2 separate regions of the Homo sapiens genome follow, and region 2 is linked to region 1. The links are contacts of gene promoters, found by promoter capture Hi-C in blood cells and fetal thymus (Javierre and others, 2016). All regions are on one chromosome and are shown on one strand. The core of a region is centred on a gene start or on the middle of the fragment in contact, and the rest is flanking DNA. Distances in the headings are between cores, read along the strand shown.

Evidence for each region. The method cuts DNA at HindIII sites, captures the fragments that hold promoters and counts their contacts. A CHiCAGO score of 5 or more calls a contact.
Region 2: a contact is called between a fragment that was not itself captured here and the fragment with the promoter of ASPN in region 1, in 1 of 17 cell types (megakaryocytes). The highest score is 5.2, in megakaryocytes.

What each region holds. Positions count from the first base shown.
Region 1 is chr9:92,477,042-92,483,871 of GRCh38, forward strand. ASPN (asporin) reads right to left here and starts at 5,465. Exons shown (of 8, transcript NM_017680.6): 1 at 5,252-5,465. All of the region lies in intron 5 of CENPP (centromere protein P), which reads left to right. The HindIII fragment of the contact is 2,340 bases long and covers 3,545-5,884 here.
Region 2 is chr9:92,578,993-92,585,332 of GRCh38, forward strand. The region is part of intron 5 of CENPP (centromere protein P); the gene reads left to right. Among named protein-coding and RNA genes, the nearest start is that of ECM2, 46 kb to the left of the region's middle. The HindIII fragment of the contact is 534 bases long and covers 4,416-4,949 here.

The DNA of each region.
Region 1 (6,830 bases), core at 4,215-6,714:
ATTTGTGTAGTACTGGGTGAGAGATTGTGCTGGCAACACAGGGTTCAGTGGCTTCTTTTGGAGAGCCCCAGGTGGAAATCACCAACTGTGGCTGACTACTGTTCTGTAGCAGGCATGGGGTGTCCCTGCTGGCAGGCAGGTTGATGTTTCGTATTCCAGTCATCCTGTGAATGCTGTATGGGGTCCTGGTAAAGGTTACTGGGGGCTTCCTTCTCAATATCACTTTGTCCCTGGCACATTGTCTCTGTGCCTTTGCTGTCTGTCTAACTTTGACTCATTATGTGTTTTGACTTAGGGCTGTTGTGTGGCTCCTGACTCCTTAAGGTTTAGTGCCCAGCTTTGCCTCAACCTTCAAAATACTCATTCCCTAGAAAATTCAGCTCTTGGTCCTTAGCTAAATCAAAGTTGGCCCCTGATTCCAGTTTATTCTGTAACATTCTTGCATTACAGCTCTGTCTTCTAGGTGCATAGCTGCCCTTGACCTTGTCTGACCTTGGCAACAAGGAGCTATAGAATTATAATGTCATTTAAGGTCCTGTTTCTGGCTTTCTTTGAGGTTGCTGGAGTTATTCAGTGGGCATTTACCAAGCACCCACTGTACCCCATGCAGTGTCACTCGTCAGAATGCTGAATTTCTTAAAGTAGAGCACACCTTCCTCCCCATCCTCTTCTCTCCCACACTTCCCTACTCAAAAATAAAAAACCCGCAACTCCTAATCAACTACTGTCAGGTAATACGAGATCGTAAAGTTAACACTTGAATGTCAGGTACATTAATAGAAAAACTAAAAAATAAAATGCCTGGATTAGTAAATAGACAATGTAAACTGTATATACTGTGACTTATGGGGTAGGAACAGGGGTGTAGGGCTTTAACACTAGATGTGTGGTACCCAGAGCTTTGAAAGTAAAATTCTTCACCGTGTCTGTCTACGCATAACCCTCAGTTTACTGTTTGAGACCAATAGAACTAAAGACATTTATAAAAACATATATTCACATGAAAAAAAGATTGAAATAGAATGTACAAACCTGGTAAGAGGGATAATGGGATTATAAGCAAAGCATTTTTTTTTTCTTCCCATGCATAGTTTCTTAATTATGTTGCTTTTAAAATATTTTAAATGTCAGTCCGCCAACAGAATTTTCTTTGCTTTATTTCTGCATATACTGCTGTCTTTTCCTACCACTTTTGGTAGGAATTGGTGTAATCAAAGGTTTCTCATACACACTATTCTCATCTATTTCTACCCAAAAGTCAAACAATAGCACCTACTTGGGAAATTGTTTTGGGGTTCACAATTTCTTGAGGCTTAATCCTATTTGTTCTGGTCAATGGGAAATGAAGATTTTGACAAGGTTATTTTTTAAGTTGGTTGATTGTGCTTTTTTGTTTGTTTTTTTGGGGTTTTTTGTTTGTTTGTTTGTTCGAGATGGAGTCTCACTTTGTCGCCCAGGCTGGAGTACAGTTGCGCCATCTTGGCTCACTGCAACCTCCACGTCCCAGGTTCAAGTGATCCTCCCACCTCAGCCTTCAAGTAGCTGGGATTACAGGCATGTGCCATCATGCCTGGCTAATTTTTTATATTTTTGTAGAGATGGGGTTTCACCATGTTGGCCAGGCAGGTCTTGAACTCCTGACCTTAAGCGATCCACCCATCTCGGCCTCCCAAAGTGTGCCACTGTGTGAGCCACTGCACCCAGCCTGAATGTTTTAGTTTAAGTTTTTTCCCATAGAATCTTTGAACCAAATGGGCTTTAGATTCCCAGTCTGGACCGGAAAAACCTATTTAACAGATAATATATCCAAAATGTAGAAACAAAAAAACTATGGAACTTAAAAAAAAAAAGTAAAACACCAGGAATGTGTTAGAGATCCAAAGTGGGGTGCCAAGAACACATCGTGGTGTTCCTTGTGGCCTGGCAGCGGGAGCAAGGACTGGCCTCAGCTCCTTTGCACACCACGTAATGGTTTCCCAGATGCCTTCAGCCTCGTGCCACCGTCAAGAGAGGCTTCCCCAGTACTGAGCTGAGGTTCGAGATGAGGAACTGGATCAGGTATGAGGAGCAGAACTGAGAGTTGAGAGGAGAAGGAGAAGGCACACAGGGCAGGGAAGGCAGGGAGCAGAACAGTAGTGGTCCTGCTTTTTTCCACATCCCTGCCTCAGGGCTGCTGACCAGTCCCCCAGTGGCATCAGGAGAAGCATCAGCCGGGGCCCCTTCCTTTGTCTCTCCTCTTTCTGAGACTGATAAGTTACAGGAGACCCTCCCTGCCTTTAATCAAAACTGCGGTAAAATTAAAATATGAAATGGAGACTTCTGCCTGCAAGTTTTAGGCAGTAGCATTATCTTTAGCTGTTGGGAAGCATTCCAGTTGCTGAGCAGTGGAGGCAGCCACTTTTATATAGTAGTTAGGCCCTTTCCTGGAGAATAAGAGATGAAGACCTTTGAAACAGGAGTTCCTCCTGGTGGTGAAGGTTCCAGAACATTCTGGAACAGGGAGCATATCCACCCTGCTTGAATAGCTCCAGGGAGAGGATACTACCTCAAGGCAGCATCTTCCACAGTTGTCCATCCATGGCTGTTAGGAAAGTCTTTATATGGAAACTCAAAAATGCCTTCTGGAAAATTCATTTCTCTCTGCTAGTTCTGTCTTCTGTTAGCCTTTTACAATTAATCTAATCTTTTGCATTTGTGTATCCTGGTTGCTTGCAAAGAAAAAAGTCAGGCCAACCTTGATACCATGAGGAATTCATTATTTACACTCTTTACCTGAGTCTCTTGCTGGGTCTCTTCCACTGCTTTGTTAATAAGTACAATCAAGTATAGGTCCTAAACCTCCCCCAGTTCAGTGTGCAACTGTTTACCAATAGGAAAATAATGGAATGTCTAGGAGAGAACCCTAGATAGCAGTATTTTTTTCTTATTATTCAGAAAGAATGTAGAGAATATTATATGTCATTTAAAATGATATGACTTTTGGCTGTTTTATTTTGAGTTTATTAATGAGGTACAACCTCTGTTTTATTAGTTTTGGCAGTATTCAGGTTACTCTATTTTTAAACCCTTTAAAAATATTAAATCTTCTTCTCAGGAATACTCAATATTTCCCTGATTTAGACCAGTTTTGCCAGTGTTTTCCACTCATGGAAAGCTTTGGATTTTGGTTTCAAGTCTCTCTTAATCAGAGTAGTGTTTGGAGTATTCTTCCAGTGCTACTGCTATTACTAATAAATCATAGTAGCCTAGAGCTAAGAGAGGTCTTTGAGACTTTCCCCCCATGGCCCTCTTTTACTGAGAAAAAGCAGAGGCAGTGAGCGTCCAGAACTGGCTGGAGGTGGTGGAGCTGAGGGCTGGCTTCCTCACTGCTTGTTGGTTGTGCTTTGCACTAGACTGCATGTCCTCCTAAATGGATTTTAATCTCATAGTTACTTCCAGACAGTAAACAGACTTTCCTCTGGAAAAGCCTAGGTAAGGAGGTTTGGCCAAGTTCTTAAAAGAGTTCATAACATATGGACTGGAAATAAAGCTTAAGAAGCACATAAGCTTTCTTGTTTCCATTTAACTGGTCTACAAACTTAGAAAGTTTATCTAAGTGAAATGGTATTTCCTCTCAGACACTATTATTAGGTAAATAAGTCACTGTGCTTTTAAATCCCATGTTTAAAGGCCCGCTTGGCAACTTTTCCCCTGGGTTTAAACATGCCTATCAGTTCACAGGTACCAGTAGCAGATTTCAGCATATAAATGTGATATAACATACTCCATATATTTCACCGAAGGAATCCAAACCAAATTCAGATGTAATCAAGGCATAGTCTTGTAAGCTAACAAATGAGTTAAAAGTCCAACATGCATTTGGAAACTTATTCACAGTACCATTTGTTCATGGATACTGATAAAGATAGCACTTTCCTTAAAAAGTAGTTAATTTTACCTTAGAAGTATAACTAGCATTCTGACAAAGCATTCTAGCTGTTCTTCCTTTTATACTAATTTTGCCCTTCATTAATTTCTCCACATGTCTAGCAATCAAGCTACTGTCTTAAAAAACAAAATCTACTGCCTCTCCATTTTTATGATGTTTCCCACAGTGCCTCAAGACTTGTGCTTGTAAAGTTAATTGTTTTTGTCTCAAACCTCAGATCAGTTATCAGAATATTTGTTTTTAATTGAGTAGTTAGTTGTAACAGAAGACTATATATCCTCTGTTCTTTCCACTACTACACTATACTCCTTAATGCCAAAAAACAAACTAAAAACATCAGGATCCTTTTATGTGTGTGGGCTTGTGCTCGATTTTTCTTTCTTTTTTCATTTCTTTCTTTTAACAGCTTGATTCTTGGATTTAAACAACTTTATTTTTAGGGAAATACAACCCCCTCAGGTTCTTTATGACTCAGTCCCTACACCATGTGGCCACTGTTTCCTGGGTGCCACACCTCTGAATAGATTAACATGAAAGAATGCTGTGCGCTATTTAGATTACTAGGGAGTAGAATATTGAATACATTGCTTAAATTTTTTAATCTAAAATTTAATCAGAAATTTACTTTGGGAGTAGACAAAGGAAATCTTTGAAAGTGTTAAATTCTGACTGTATACATGCTGTGAAAATTTCCTAATCTTTCATATTGAATATAGTGCTAGCTAAACTATTGCTGATAAGTATTCTTTCTTGGAATTGAATAGATTTCCATTTGAACTTTTCAGTGCCATTTCATTATAATAAGGAAGACATTTATCAAGGAAAAAAATGAATATTCAAATGTATAAGTAAAATTGACATTTCAGTAATTCACACATTTTAAATACACATTAGAAAATATTTTAAATATTGAAAAATATATTTACTGTTTCATTTAATATAGCTGTGATATCCCCAAACTTCATGATCATTATTATAGCAATGTTATTTTCCTAGATAAACATACAAGATGTTTATTTAGATGACTTTTAAAATCAATCATGTTAACATTTATGGTAAGGCATAATGACAGGTTTTCACTTAGCTGAAAAAAAAAGTCACATAATTATATTTAAAATACATTCATTATAGGTAAGACATAAAACTAGAATAATTTTAGGTACAAATTTAGGTTTGTATTTAAATGCTGATTTTTAAGAAATTATAGAGATAAACTTTGGACTTTATCCTATTATTTATAAGCATTTATTAATAACATTAATGTCTCCTTAGTATTGACTGTAAAGTATACATCGATACTTGTAAGATAGACATGAAACATACCTGTCAGAAGAGAGTAGTCCTCCTAAAAGTAGAAGTTATCCACCATGTACTACTTATCTATAATGTAAATGTTCTCAGACACTGTGTAAGAAGAAAAGATGAGGAGGTATTACATTTAAAAGAAAAAAAACACCCTTCAACACAGTCCTGGTGTGGCTGCACCCTGGGTGATACTGGAATAAACTGCTCCCACAGATTAGTCCATGTTAGTACTGAGGAGCAAGATTAAAACTTGTTACTGCTCATGTGTTTTCCATCACTGTTTGTATCGTAGCCAAGACTTCTAGCTAAACTCTAGACGTCTACTGGAAGATTCTGAAGAAGAAAAAAAAAGAAAGTTTAATAATGCATGGCAACTGGCCATTGAAAGTGCAGTCGGAGTCATTCAAGAAATACCTAGTTTTAAAAATATTAGATTCTTAAGTGAATGAATATTTGTAAATTACAATTTCAAAAATTACTCAACCTGTATAGACTAATAAAATATTTATCAATCTGAATAAAGGATACCAACATTACTGAAGTATATACCCAAACTTCAGATGTACCTGAGAAAGAACCATACTTTTTTTTTCTTCTAATGACTGTAGCTATTGCATTATGCATACTTCTCCAGACTTTTTTTTTTTTTTAAGCTTTTAGCACTGCTATAGCATGTCAGGGAAACTATGGATGAGGCTCCATGAACTGCTCCCTGGACTCAACATATGTGATATAACACAGACACACATGCATGTCCAAGTAACACCCTCTTAGGATGCATACAACTTTCCCTTTTCAAGAGAATATTAGCTATGGCCTCACTGACATTTAGGGAGACTTAGAGCAGGGAAGATGCTATTTCCTGAAAATAAATCATTATTTGTACCCCCTTTCCACTCATCCCCAAGAGACTGCCCAATTCTACATCAACTAAGACCTTCAAGAGAGGACAGTTTTCTTTTTTTTTTTTTTGAGACGGAGTCTCACTCTGTCACCCAGGCTGGAGTGCGGTGGCGCAATCTTGGCTTACTGCAAGCTCTGCCTCCCAGGTTCACGCCATTCTCCTGCCTCAGCCTCCCGAGTAGCTGGGACTGCAGGCGCCCGCCACCACGCCTGGCTAATTTTTTGGTTTTTTAATAGAGACAGTGTTTCATTGTGTTAGCCAGGATGGTCTCGATCTCCTGACCTCGTGATCTGCCCGCCTCGGCCTCCCAAAGTGCTGGGATTACAGGCATGAGCCACCATGGCCGGCCTGAGAGGACAGTTTTCTAACCCTAGTGGCAAGGACTTACTGTTGTAAGTGACCCCAATGGTTCTTCCCAACTGTTGTATAGATTTGGAGGCCAGCAAAGAGCTTTTCCAGTGGGTTAGAAGACCTGTTCTCTACTGTCATCAAGAGTCTGACCATCGTTTGTTCCCTCTCTCCAGAGAAATGGCACACATTGTGTTAAGCAAGGCAGCTACAGTCCTAAAGAATACATGTGCCTCAGATGTGCATAGCAGCTGGCTATGTGTTCATCCTCCCCTCACTTAAATAAAGTACTCCTCCTTGGACCTCTAGGCTGACAGTTCCAGGCAGCTCGGTAGTCCCATTAGT
Region 2 (6,340 bases), core at 3,433-5,932, 100 kb after region 1:
GGATCCAGTTTCAGCTTTCTACATACGGCTAGCCAGTTTTCCCAGCACCATTTATTAAATAGGGAATCCTTTCCCCATTGCTTGTTTTTCTCAGGTTTGTCAAAGATCAGATAGTTGTAGATATGCAGCATTATTTCTGAGGGCTCTGTTCTGTTCCATTGATCTATATCTCTGTTTTGGTACCAGTACCATGCTGTTTTGGTTACTGTAGCCTTGTAGTATAGTTTGAAGTCAGGTAGTGTGATGCCTCCAGCTTTGTTCTTTTGGCTTAGGATTGACTTGGCGATGAGGGCTCTTTTTTGGTTCCATATGAACTTTAAAGTAGTTTTTTCCAATTCTGTGAAGAAAGTCATTGGTAGCTTGATGGGGATGGCATTGAATCTATAAATTACCTTGGGCAGTATGGCCATTTTCACGATATTGATTCTTCCTACCCATGAGCATGGAATGTTCTTCCATTTGTTTGTATCCTCTTTTATTTCGTTGAGCAGTGGTTTGTAGTTCTCCTTGAAGAGGTCCTTCACATCCCTTGTAAGTTGGATTCCAAGGTATTTTATTTTCTTTGAAGCAATTGTGAATGGGAGTTCACTCATGATTTGGCTCTCTGTTTGTCTGTTATTGGTGTATAAGAATGCTTGTGATTTTTGTACATTGATTTTGTATCCTGACACTTTGCTGAAGTTGCTTATCAGCTTAAGGAGATTTTGGGCTGAGACAATGGGGTTTTCTAGATATACAATCATGTCATCTGTAAACAGGGACAATTTGACTTCCTCTTTTCCTAATTGAATACCCTTTATTTCCTTCTCCTGCCTAATTGCCCTGGCCAGAACTTCCAATACTATGTTGAATAGGAGTGGTGAGAGAGGGCATCCCTGTCTTGTGCCAGTTTTCAAAGGGAGTGCTTCCAGTTTTTGCCCATTCAGTATGATATTGGCTGTGGGTTTGTCATAGATAGCTCTTATTATTTTGAGATACGTCCCATCAATACCTAATTTATTGAGAGTTTTTAGCATGAAGGGTTGTTGAATTTTGTCAAAGGCCTTTTCTGCATCTATTGAGATAATCATGTGGTTTTTGTCTTTGGTTCTGTTTATATGCTGGATTACATTTATTGATTTGCTTGTATTGAACCAGCCTTGCATCCCAGGGATGAAGCCCACTTGATCATGGTGGATAAGCTTTTTCATGTGCTGCTGGATTCGGTTTGCCAGTATTTTATTGAGGATTTTTGCATCAATGTTCATCAAGGATATTGGTCTAAAATTCTCTTTTTTGGTTGTGTCTCTGCCCGGCTTTGGTATCAGGATGATGCTAGCCTCATAAAAAGAGTTAGGGAGGATTCCCTCTTTTTCTGTTGATTGGAATAGTTTCAGAAGGAATGGTACCAGTTCCTCCTTGTAGCTCTGGTAGAATTCGGCTGTGAATCCATCTGGTCCTGGACTCTTTTTGGTTGGTAAGCTATTGATTATTGCCACAATTTCAGCTCCTGTTATTGGTCTATTCAGAGATTCAACTTCCTCCTGGTTCAGTCTTGGGAGAGTGTATGTGTCAAGGAATTTATCCATTTCTTCTAGATTTTCTAGTTTATTTGCATAGAGGTGTTTGCAGTATTCTCTGATGGTAGTTTGTATTTCTGTGGGATCGGTGGTGATATCCCCTTTATCATTTTTTATTGCATCTATTTGATTCTTCTCTCTTTTTTTCTTTATTAGTCTTGCTAGCGGTCTATCAATTTTGTTGATCTTTTCAAAAAACCAGCTCCTGGATTCGTTAATTTTTGAAGGGTTTTTTGTGTGTCTATTTCCTTCAGTTCTGCTCTGATTTTAGTTATTTCTTGCCTTCTGCTAGCTTTTGAATGTGTTTGCTCTTGCTTTTCTAGTTCTTTTAATTGTGATGTTAGGGTGTCAATTTTGGATCTTTCCTGCTTTCTCTTGTGGGCATTTAGTGCTATAAATTTCCCTCTACACACTGCTTTGAATGTGTCCCAGAGATTCTGGTATGTTGTGTCTTTATTCTCGTTGGTTTCAAAGAACATCTTTATTTCTGCCTTCATTTCGTTATGTACCCATTAGTCATTCAGGAGCAGGTTGTTCAGTTTCCATGTAGTTGAGCGGTTTTGAGTGAGATTCTTAATCCTGAGTTCTAGTTTGATTGCACTGTGAGAGACCCTGTCTTTTAAAAATAAGTACATAAATATCAAGATACTTACTACTTTAGCAGAAAACGAGAGGTATATGATGGGGAAGAGGAATGCCAGGGTACTTCTGGGGTGTTGGCAAGATTCTGTTAAGCCATATTACATTTTGTGTTTTTTTCTGCATTCTATAAGACATACATTATAGTTTATGCATTATAAAAATCTGTGTCAAGAAACCAAATAAGATCCAAAATATATATATATAAAGAAACTCACACCTAAATATAATTTAATGGAACTGCAGTGACCAAAGATGAAACGAAGATCTTTGAAGCATCCAAAGGAATGGATTGGCTATATTGGCAAACTCTGATCCTTCAACAGCAGCAATGGAAACCAGGAAGCAGTGGTAGCTTCGTTACTCTCAGAGAAAATAATAGCATACTTCCTATACCCAGCAAATACTGTCTTTCAGAATGAAAGTGAAATAAAGAGAATGTTAGATTAAATAGAAACTGAGAGAATTTACCTCCAATAGACACACATTTTAGAATGAAAGGATCATCTCCAAGTAGAAGGAAAATGATCCAAGAAGGAAGGTTTGAGGTGCAAGAAGGAATAAAAAGCAAAGAATAAGGTAAATATGTCAAACAGTGACTGTATAACATAATCATAATGATGTCATATGAGAGGCTTTTTAAGCTAGCATTCAAAAATACACAGTAATACAAGGTTGCTTGAAATTAAAATGTTCTGAATTCTTGTGTTCAAGAGGAGGACTGAGACATCCATTTGTTTAGACTTTGATGAGTATAGATGATAAAATGTCTAAGGTAACCCCTTAACAAAAATAAGGTATGTGACTTTTCAGCTAACACAGGGGAAAAACACTTGGTGGTGTTTTGTTTTGTTTTGTTTTGTTTTGTTTTGTTTTGTTTTGAGACAGGATCTCCCTTTGTCACTCAGGCTGGAGTGCAGTGGCATGATCTTGGCTCACTGAAGCCTCAACCTCCTGGGCTCAAGTAATCCTCCCACCTCCGCCTCCCAAGTAGCTGAGACTACAGGCACATGCCACCATGCCCGGCTAATTTTTTTGTATTTTTTTTGTAAAGTTGGGGTTTTGCCGTGTTGCCCAGGCTGGTCTCGAACTCCTGAGCTCAGGTGACCTGCCTGCCTTGGCCTGCCAAAGTGCTGGCATTACAGGCATGAACTACCACACCTGGCCCAAAGACACAGTTTTAAAAAGCTGATAAAGAAAGCAAAAAGGAAAAAAATAATTTTAAAACAATTTAAAAAGTCAATTGTGGGACATCCAGATAGAACAGAATGAAGAGGTCAGTGATCCTCTTCCCAAGATAACAAGTGTAAAACTGAAAAATTCACTAAAATAATTGCTTAGGGCCCTGGAGATTGACAAAAGGTAAAGAAAAAATAATGTGGAGCCTGATTCTGCCCTCTCTTTTATTATCTGTGTTCAATAACGGTGTCCTTTCTGGAAAAAAAAAAAAGACACCCAACCCCATTCCATATTCCTCATTGTCACTATGTAATGGAATAGAAAAAGGGGACTGTTGTATTGTTAAGATTCTTTTTGGTGGCAAGTAATAGAAACAACACTTCAAATAAGCCCTAGTACGCAAGGGAATGTATTGGAAGGGCACTGAAGAATATCCTGCTCTCAAAGGGCAGGAAGAGTAGAACGACTCCCTAGGGCCTGGGAAGAGGAATGGGGATACTCTTGTGGCCCACCGAGTCTTCAGATTCTCTATCTTGCTTTCTTTTTCTGAGGTCTTGTGTTCTCTTAGCCTCACCACTTTCTGTAAGTCTACTTTACTCTCCTCTCCCAAAAGGTGTTGTCTTCTGCAGAACAGCTTTCACTGTGTTTGACAGGCACATGGCAAAATGATGCATCTATATGTCTTCAGTTTAAGCAACTTCCCAGACTGGTGGTCGGATTCTCAATGTGAAGTTTCTCCAAGACAGTCTGATTGGGTCGTCTTGGGTCATGTGTCCATCCTTGGTCTCATCAATTATTATCTGTGGGATCAAGATCAAATTGTACAAGCATGGCTGGGTGGTGGTGATATACACTAGTATAGAGTTAAACATATTCAGCAGAAGAATATTCATGTAGACTACCCTATAAAAAGCCTTTGTAACAAACAGAAAAGTTAGTGTTTAATATAACTTTATTCAGTCAACATGCATTTATCTTTACTTCCTGAAGAGAACATCCTTTGTATTGTTGGACTGCTTTACTGTGTAACCTAGTGCAAGCTTTGTACCTATTAATCTGTCGGTATGTATTGGTTTGATTATTTTCTGTTTCATTCACTTATAGCATATTTGTAAATGCTTACAGGAATCTTGTAGGTTTTAACTCTATCTCACAAGTATCATTCTTAAACTAATATATGAGGTTCAAAGATTATGGGTGCTTTATTTCATTCTTAGCATTTTTTTCTGAATATGTGCTTAAATTACAGAGGAGTGGGGTTTTTTTTTTCTTCTTTTTTGGAGGGTAGATTAAAACCATTAGCTATACTTAGGCATAGTCCTCAGTGGATAAGAGTTGTTTTGCTTTCAAAATTTTCAAGCAGGCTTTAGTGAAACAAACAATATTTTCACTATGAAATCACCAGCATGCTAGCTGGAAGAGCTGTGCCATCATCTGTTTATGGTGGTATGCCATTTGGTATCTATAATTCAGAACAGCAAAGGTAAAATTTAAATGTTTGCATACTGAAAATTACTTCTCTATGTCTTTGGAAAAGAGTATTAGCAATGGTTGGGCATGTAGCAAAAACCAAGCTTTCTGTCTATGAGTTGATGGCTCTGCTTAGTTCAGTTTCTTGAACCATTACAAGCCCCATGCAAGCATTGTGCTGTCTGTCAAATATAACCAAAGGCTGAATGAAAACACTGGGATTAGTTCCACTTCCTCAGAATGTGTCAGGGACCTGGCCACACCTCACCCCAGCCATCCCCCAGTCCCAGCCTGGCCCATTTCATGAGGTACCATTCAAATGACTCCCATCTGCAGCAATACAAATTACTTTCCAAACAAGTCCCTGGCTGCAGTGACTCCCAGCATGCATTGGCTTTTCCCATTTACTCTTTGCTTCCCAAAATCAGATGAGGGTCTTGCCTAAGTATGTGTTTCACATAGTATTGGCACAGATAGGTGTTCAGTGTTTTGTTTATTTTATTGTTTCTATGTTTGTTTGTTTGTTTGAGACAGGGTCTTACTCTATCACCCAGGCTAGAGTGTAGTGGCACCATCACGGCTCACTGCAGCCTTGACTTCCCAGGCTCAAACAGTCCTCCCACCTTAGCTTTCAGAGTAGCTAGGACTACAGGTATGCGTCACCATGCCTGGCTAAGTTTTACATTTTTTTAAGAGACGGGGTCTCACTATGACTGGTCTTGAACTCTTGGGCTCAAGCCACCCTCCCACCTCAGCCTCCCAAAGTGCTGGGATATGCCTGGCTGTAAGTTCGTTTTAACCAGTTAGTTGTATTGTTCATTCAACAGGCTGTTATGTGTGAGGAACTGCAGTAGTTGCTTCTGTCTTGGGCCAAGTGTCTTCCCTAAAGCTCTAGAGTCTTTAAATTAAAACATCTATATAAAAATTTCCCTATTTTTCCTTTCTTGTTTAAATTTATTTCTCAATTATTCTTCCATAATTCCCAGTTTCATTAATTCCTTTTACATTTTGTTTAGCTTTTTCATTTGTAGGTCATGTACATTCGTACATTCATGAATTCAGCAAATGTTTGTCAAGCACCTATTATGCACCCATGTATTATGCTAGCAGTAACAAATTGCATGTTATATAGTTGTTTCAGTGCTTCAGTATTTAGTTGAAGCAACAAATATATACACCTAACTGTAACCACAAGTGATTGCTATACTATACAGATTATATGGGAATATAGTAGAGGAAGCAGGGAGATTTCCTGAAGAGATGGCATTTGAGTAGAATGACAAGAATGTTTACAGGTGATGCCTGAAGGAAGACTGCTCACTAGGACTGGGCTGTAATATTAGAAGCAAAGGCTAGAAAGTAAGTTTGGAGAAATGTTACAGAGGGCCTTGAGTACCACATTTTAGAAATATAGTCTTCATTCTAGGCTCTTAAAAAATCAGTTTATATTTTTGAGGGGGGATAGTGACATGAAATCACTCATGTTTAAGGAG